2 separate regions of the Homo sapiens genome follow, and region 1 is linked to region 2. The links are contacts of gene promoters, found by promoter capture Hi-C in human tissues and cell types (Jung and others, 2019). All regions are on one chromosome and are shown on one strand. Each heading gives the region's core, a stretch centred on a gene start or on the middle of the fragment in contact. The rest is flanking DNA. Distances are from core to core; before and after follow the strand shown. Region 1 overlaps TCFL5 (transcription factor like 5). Region 2 holds the start of BHLHE23 (basic helix-loop-helix family member e23).

Region 1 (3,896 bases), core at 1,263-3,762, 150 kb before region 2:
GCTCGTGCATCCTGGCCACTGAGTGCCACGGAAGCGCCTGTCACCACAGGAAGCCCCACGGCTTTGCCACGGCCTTGTCTACAGAGGCAGCCACTGCCTTCCAGAGGCCAGAGCATCCTCGGGTGCCCTTGGCGGCCCCATGACCCACAAGCTCCCTGGAGCTTTCCCTCTTTACTTCTCACGGGCCAGGTTCAAGTCTCTAGATTAGGGATGGCTCCAAAGCCCCTGAAACTGGAAGCAACATTTTGTGTCTGACACCTTCTTCCATTTGGACCACTGAGGGGTCCAAATTGGGCAGATAACTCTGTCATTCAAGACTGATATTACTTGCCCTTCACGGGCTAAATACCCTACCAGGAACTCGTGCACAGCTTTCTCCAAGGGGCCCTGATTCAGAAAGGATCACGGCCCAACACTCTGTTAATATTCTGAAACTTGGTCTTTGTAGAGATAAACAATTGGAGTCTTGTTATTAGACTATTTTTTAAACTTTTACATATTACATTCAGTAACATGCAAAGTCCTAAACAAGCAGATACTGAGCAACTTATTCAATATGGCCCTTGTTACTCACCTTCACACCCGTCTATTTAGAACTTTAATTAGAGACTTTGCCAGTAAAACAGCAGCTGGCATTTACTAGGTGCTTTTGGACTTCTAGACATTGAGCGAAACACTCTTTACACATCAGCTCACTGAACTCTAACCACAAGTCTACGCAGTAGAGCTAGAAGTCCAACTTTCAAACTGTCAACGTACGGTGTAAGGCTTTCCACATAGCAGGTACTCAATAAATGTCTATTAAATAAATGTCGGAGCAAAATGCCCTTCATAATTCACAGTAGGGTGAGGAAGGCCCTCAGTTAGTCCATGTGTATAAAAGTATCATAAAAAGATATTAGCTAGCTTTTTAATTTTCTTTCTTTGGGGGATGGGTCTCACTTTGTGGCCCAGGCTGGAGTGCAGTGGCATGATCACAGCTGACTACAGCGCTGACCTCCCAGGCTCAAGTGATCCTCCCACACCTCAGCCTCCCAAGTAGCTGGGGCGACAGGTGTGCAACACCACCACTACTAGTATTGTTGGTTTTTCTTTAGAGACGGGGACTTGCTATGTTGCCCAGGCTGGTTTCAAACTCCTGGGCTCAAGCAATCCTCCCACCTCGGCCCACAGTCATGAGCCACTGCACCCTGCCCCAGCAAGTTTGAATAGATCCCTTTAAAAGAAATTGCCATGCCAGGCGCAGTGGCTCAAGCCTGTAATCCCAGTACTTTGGGAGGCCGAGGCACGTGGATCACCTGAGGTGAGGAGTTCGAGACCAGCCTGACCAACATGGAGAAACCCCTCCTGTACTAAAAATACAAAATTAGCTGGGCGTGGTGACGCATGCCTGTAATCCCAGCTACTCAGGAGGCTGAGGCAGGAGAATCGCTTGAACCTGGGAGGCGAAGGTTGCGTTGAACCGAGATCGTGCCATTGCACTCCAGCCTGGGCAACAAGAGTAAATCTCCATCTCACCAAATAAAAAAATAAATAAATAAATAAATTGCCTTAGCTCAACATTCAACCTTGGAGCTTCAAACCTGAGTATTTGTCTCACTCACTGTTATTTATTTCCTGAACTTAAAGCAGAAACTGGTACACAGTACCAGTACTCGATACATTATGTAGTTAATTAATTATAGATTAGGGAAATATTCTATGAAAACCCAATTATAGGCCGGGTGTGGTGGCTCATGCCTGTAATCCCAGCACTTTAGGAGGCCGAGGCAGGCGGATCACAAGGTCAGGAGTTCGAGACCAACCTGGCCAATATGGTGAAACCTCATCTCTACTAAAAGGTACAAGAATTAGCTGGGCGTAGTGGCGGGTACCTGTAATCCCAGCTACTGGGGAGGCTGAGGCAGAAGACTCGCTTGAACCTGGGAGGCGGAGGTTGCAGTGAGCCGAGATCATGCCACTGCACTATTCCAGCCTGGGTGACAAAGCAAGACTCCGTCTCAAAAAAAAAAAAAAAAAAGAAAAAGAAAAGAAAACCCAATTATAATAGAAAAAAATTAACCACTCTTAATTCTACAAAGAAGGATACCACAAATAAAATCTACAGACAAAACCACTTAAATAACAATTTTAACCTCTTCCTTCCCAGCAATCTTAAAAGAACCAGGCAATAGCCAGGAGCGGTGGCTCACACCTGTAATCCCAGCACTTTGGGAGGCCGAGGCGGGCAGATCACGAGGTCAGGAGATCAAGACCATCCTGGCTAACATGCTGAAACCCCGTCTCTACTAAAAAATACAAAAAAATTAGCCAGGTGTGGTGGCAGGCGCCTGTAGTCCCAGCTACTCAGGAGGCTGAGGCAGGAGAACGGCATGAACCCGGGAGGCGGAGCTTCCAGTGAGCAGAGATCGCGCCACTGCACTCCAGCCTGGGCGACAGAGCAAGACTCCGTCTCAAAAAAAAAAAAAAAAAAAAAGAACCAGGCAAAACTTGCTGAACTCAAGCTGGCTGGTAAGCAGCAGTTACCAAAACAGCCTGACCACTCTCCTCAGAAAGGCCTGCAGTCAGGGCTGGCCCTTAGTGGAGTCTGCAAACCTAGATTCAGGGAGTTAAGAGTGCCCCCAGAACCTACACTGTGCAAACGATATGGCTGACACTGAACAACTGCTTTCCTTCTGGGAGACTGGACTGTGGTTGCATGCATGGGGGCAGTGCCTACGTGACACGCCCCTGGTCTCTAGCGAGCTTTCCTGGTTGGCAACACCTCACCCACGTTTTCAGACCACATGGCTGGGGGCATGAGGGGCAACCTGCCTGACTCCACAGGGCGCGCTCTTAGAAGCTTGCACCTCAGCTCCTGCCTTCTCCCCACGCGCCTTTGCTGATCGCACCTGGCATCCTTTCTCCATAGTAAGTCACAGCCTGAGAGTGACTGCATGCGGAGTCCCGGGAGTCCTCCTAGTGAGCCAGCGAGCCTGGGCATAGTCTGGGGGATCCTTGATCCATCTGGGAAAGCTAACGATGCTCCTACCTGCTTTATTCCCTCTGAACGCAGAAACGGCTAAGGATCACTCATCTGTGATAACCATGTATGACTAAGGTAATCATATATGAGTCAGCCTGACAAGCAGTCACACGTATTACCTTCTATCTCTTTCCATTCGGTTATGCCTCTCCCTACGTTGAGACCTTCCTCCCTGGGGCCCACTCTGGGCCTGCTCCCCCAGGTTTGCCTGTGAGGACTCCGAGGACTGCCAAGCGCCTTGTGTGGCGGTGGCACCTTCGCCCACATTCTGAATCTCTCCAAGGGCTCTTCGCTCTACATTTGTGTCCAACTGACGCATTCTACTCCGATTCCTCTTCAGTGCTTGTTTGCATAGCGCTGCTTCTTTGCGAAAGAAGAAAAAAGTGGTTTTTAATTTTGTATTCTTATCTCAATTAATGCTGAATACAGTTTTGGCCTTTTCAATCCAAGATATAAACATTATTGGGTAAGCAGCACAGAGAACCGAAACACAAAGAGATGTACTAATGCAGTTTTTCAGCATCAGCAGGGACCATGAAGCCCAAGCCTATTTTATACAACGAAACTGAACAAGAATCAATCATCACACTAAATACGTTTTCCAAGTGCTATGCAACCAATATGACCTCATCCAAAGCCCCTCTTTTTAATTAACAGGTGTTATCTATGAATACAGAAAACAAGAAGTTGTTTACTTTTTCTAAAGGTCAGAATGGAAAAAAAAAAACAACAACAACAAACCACCTGGACATATTTCCTCCCAAAAATATTTTCTTTATATACAATTATTCTAAGAACAAGAAAAAAAAACAATTATTCTAATATGACAGTATTTTTACTGCAATGCTCAGAACAAAACTGCAGCAGCGTG
Region 2 (4,275 bases), core at 1,468-3,967:
CTTATGATTTCACACATGTGCTATAATAAGTGGTTGCTTTTAGATGAGTTTTAGCATCTCAGAGACTCTTCAGACTCTGGTTTCGAGTGGACACAAGTATCTGAAAATTGAAATTATTGTGAATTCAGCTACAAATGAACACTATTTCACTTGATATTAAAATTTAACCATATTATTTTTATAAAATAAATGGCAATAAAATGCTTTATTCTGAATATAAATGATGTACCAATGTCTCTGATTTTAACCAGAATAAACACCCCTGTTTCAAATTCTGATAAGCAGGTAATTTATTTAAGATCACGTTGAAATGACCCTAGAAGTGAAGGGCATTTGAGTTTCCAGCTTTCCCACTTTATCTAAAAGGGGAAAAACGGTGTCTGGCACTCAGCTTTTCGAATGTGCAAAACTGATAAACTAGTCTGTTAGGGGAAAAAAAAAAGACAATGAAGAAATAAAAGTGGAAATTAGCAGAAACCAGTATTAGGCATATGTCTTTATGAATAAGACTTAACCATACACTTGATTTTGCAAGTACAGAAGGCCCTGTGGAATGTATTAATCAGAGTTAAACGCTGTAGACAGGCGCGTTGCAGGGCGGCGGCCCTCTCCCCTTGGCATTACCGACAGCCGAGGAAATTGGGTTAATAAAGCCGGATACTGCGGCGGGGCCGCGGGGCGCAAACCGGCGCGGACAGATGGGTCCCCGGGGGCACCCTGCCCGGCTCCCTGGATCCCGGATGGTGGCAGAGCTGGGAGCTGCGCAGGACGGGCACTGCGCAGCGCATCTCCGTTCACACCCGGCGGGGCACGGGGCCCGCAGCAGCTTACTCACCCGTAGCCCGGCCTCCTCCCTCGGAAGGGAGAGGGGATCGGTGGGGAGGGGGTTTGCTGGACACCAGGGCTAGACGGGGCCCTCCCCTGACCGTCAGGGTTAAGTAGGGCGCGGGCTGTGAGGACCCTCCTCCACGCAGCCCCCCGAGGCAGAGGGCCCGCAAAGCGGTCTCCATCCAACTCCACCCCGCGGACGTCCCAGGCAGCGGATGGCGGCGGGGGGGGGAGGCCAGGGGACATTTAGGGGACAAATTCCTCAGACTTCGAGGCAGCCGGCGACGGCGTCCAATTCCCAAATAAATAGAACAAACTCCTACTTGGAAAAGGCCTTCCCCGGGGTCTTCCTGCGCCCGCGGTCCAGCTCCTCTGCAGACGGCCATCGTGGGCTCTCCGCAGGGCTGCGGAGTCTCGGAGTCACCGAGGTGGGAGGTGCCGGCCACGCGCGTCCTCAGGAACAGAGCACTGCCCTGCAGTTTAGCACGAAGGGCCGGCTGGAGCGGGAGCGCGAGGCCCACTGCAAGAGGATCAGGAGCCAGTAAGTCCGGCTTTTCTTCGTCTCCACCTTTCGTGCGCCCGGGGCCAGGACCGCCTGTCCGGAATCTGACCAGTGCCCGTCCTCGCCGTGGCCCTGGGACCCCGCGGTGGTCTTCTTTTGGGGACGAACGGCAGTGCCCGAAGGATGCTCTACCCACCCCCGTTCCTAGACTTGCTGGGTCCCGACAATACCCAGTGGGTGCCGCGAGTTCCCGGGCGCAGAGTCCAGCGTCCGGCTCTCGAGCTCAATCCCGCGCCCCGACGGCCTTGGCGCTTCCCGCTGCGCTAAACTGTCCACCGCGCACAGGCTGGAAGCGAAGTCGGGCCCCCTCCTCCTGGTCTGCAGGGTCCCTCCAGGCCTTTCCTGTCCGGGCAGAGAGACAGTCACAGGGGCGATCGGAGGACGCGTGCGGGAGGGCCGGGGGCCCGCGCGGTCACGGCTTCTCGTGACAGTGTTTGCAAAGCGCGGAGGGCGTCCCGGAGAAGGCGGCGCACTTGTCAGGGCAGGGCCCCAGGGCGGCGCCTGCGGAGAAGGGGCACACAGTGGCCTGGCCGAAGGGCGTCAAGGGCGCGGCGTTTACGGGCGCGGCCAGGCCCTGGCCCTGGTTGAGGAAGGCCACCAGGCGCCGCATCTCGTCCAGGGCCTGCGCCTGCATGAGGATATAGTTCTTGGCGAGCAGCAGCGTGGCGATCTTGGAGAGCTTGCGCACCGACGGGCTGTGCGCGTAGGGGATGACGGCTCGCAGCCCGTCCAGCGCGTCGTTTAGGTCGTGCATGCGCCGCCGCTCGCGCGCGTTGATGCTGAGCCGCAGAGACCGCTGCTCTCGCGGCCGCCGCCGCCCGTCCGCCGCGCTCCCTGGCCCGCGCCGCCGCCGCCGCTGCTCGAAGGCGTCGTCCTCGTCCCCGCTCTGTTCGCCGCTGCTCTCCGCCGCCTGAGCTGGGGCGCGAGGTGCAGGCGCCGCGGGGAGGTCGCCGCCCGGGCCCGGAGTGCCGTAGCCGCGGGCCGCTTCGGGTTCTCGCGCCGCCCCGTAGGCGAGACCCGCAGCCGCCGCCGCGTAGCCGTGGCTTAGTGCCAGGTACGCGTCCCCCGACAGCGACTTGAGCTCGGCCATGGCCGCGCCGCCTGGGCTCGGGGGCTCGCCGGGTGGGCGGATGCTCATGTGGGTGAGCAGCCCCCGAGGCCGGCCCGAGCCCGCCGCTGCCGCTGCCGCTGCGATGAGGCTCCCGGCTCTGCGCGTCGGTCTGGCTTGCCTGCGGGTCCCAGAGCCTCGGCGCCCGCTGCCTCCTCCGCCTCTTCCTTCTCTCCCACCTCCTCTCCCTCCCAGCCGCGACGCGCAGGGGGCGGGCTCTACCTCCCCCTCGCCCCCGCTTCGGTTTTAAGCCGCGGAGGCGCCCGGTGGGACCTCGCTGCTGTCCAATCAGGGGGGACCGGGTGAGCTCCTCTTCCTGGAGCCGGGCTCCACCAGCGCCGCAGGCTCACAGGCCGGGGGTGGGGGCTCTGGACCGAGGGGCGGCGCGGGGCGGCGCGGGGCGGCGCGCGCGGTCCTGGAGCGCTAGTACTTGCTTCTCGACTCCCCGGCCGCCGCCTCCGGCCGCCCCGGGGATTCCGCCACCAAACGCACGCGTCCCAGGTGGGCACCCGCCTCGGTCCGTCTTTGAGTCTGACCCTAGCGCAAGAGTCCCTGGCGACACGCAGGGGCCAGAGCGGGGGGGCGCGCCGCAATAGCAGCAGCGCCAGCGCCAACACCCTGTCCCGCTGAGGGGCCGCTTCGGGTCGGGGTCAGGGTCGTGGGCGCTCTGGTGCAGCCGCGGCGCAGCGTGTACCCGGAGCCCGCACACTCCCTGCTCGGGGCGCCCTGTGGCCAGGCTTGAGGGGCAGAGTGAGAGGGAGTTTCTAGAACCTGTTGAAAAACGCCACGAGCGTTGCAGGCCGGGGAGGGCGGGAAGGTGGAGGGCAGCGCGGCCTGGGGCTCCCCGGGGGTGGGAGGGGAGCTCTGTGAGCTGCAGGACCGCCTCTTCCCTGCCAGCCGCTTCCTGGGCATCTATCAGCGAAACGCGTGAGGCTTGGTGGGCTTTCCCGGAGCCTCCGAACCCCTGGGGTCCAGCCACACTGGATGGGAATGTGGCCAGCCTCGGACTCGCCTTTTCAGTCCTCTTCCAACCCCGCATGAAGGCCAGAACCCCAGCCCTTCTCCCAGGTGGGAACCTGCCTGGAGGCCCGGCCGAGTGCTGAGGCTAGAGTGTGCTGAGGGATAGTGGCTTCTCCGGTCCTGGCTTGGGTGGGAGACTGGGCCACCCTGGCCTATGGCACGAGGTGGAGCGGCCCGTCGGGCCCTTCTGTGTGACCTGGGAAGGGCCGCATACCCTCCCTGTTCTCCAGGCTCCGCCCCAGGAGGAGCCACAGCGATGGGGCAGTGTGCGCAGCCCCGGGAGGGGAGTGGGAGCTGCACGTGTGTGGGGCGGATGTGCTGTCTGGAAGGTTCTGGGAACGCAGCAGTGACCGGCCTGTCCGGTGGTTCCCTGCCAGGTGCGGGGTGTGAGGAGACAGATGCATGGATAAGTCTCCGTGGGAAACTCAGGCCTTTGTCCTGGCGGAGGGGAATGGGTCTGAGGCAGCCTCTGCCGGGCTGGCGGCCTGTCTGGCTGCGCGTCCTGCAGCACCGGCCTCACCCCCAGCACACGCCCGCCAGGAGCGCAGGGGCCCCGAGGATGGAAGCGTCTGTCTGAGGCGCTGTCCTGGGACCCCACCCCGCCTTCGGGGCTGATGCACAGACCGGGAATTGAGGATACCTGGTGTGGAGGAGGCCGCTGTGTTTGGGCCTGGGTCTGAAGGGTGAGTGGGTGTCATTGTGGCCACGGGCCGGGGTCGGGGGAGCATTCAGGTGGCCGGAGGAGGCCTGGCACAGG

The links. Contacts are between HindIII fragments. The study calls those that stand out against the background at their distance.
Region 1: a fragment that was not itself captured here is called in contact with the fragment with the promoter of BHLHE23 in region 2 in 1 of the 25 tissues and cell types used here (pancreas).

Annotation. Positions count from the first base shown.
Region 1 is chr20:62,854,251-62,858,146 of GRCh38, forward strand. It overlaps TCFL5 (transcription factor like 5), which reads right to left. Exons shown (of 6, transcript NM_006602.4): 4 at 3,145-3,388. Among named protein-coding and RNA genes, the nearest start is that of TCFL5, 5.6 kb to the right of the region's middle. The HindIII fragment of the contact is 4,926 bases long and covers 50-3,896 here.
Region 2 is chr20:63,004,247-63,008,521 of GRCh38, forward strand. It overlaps BHLHE23 (basic helix-loop-helix family member e23), which reads right to left and starts at 2,718. Exons shown (of 1, transcript NM_080606.4): 1 at 1,681-2,718. The coding sequence starts at 2,528. The coding sequence ends at 1,803. RefSeq lists enhancers at 1-112, 2,437-3,142, 3,143-3,850. The HindIII fragment of the contact is 18,098 bases long and covers 1-4,275 here.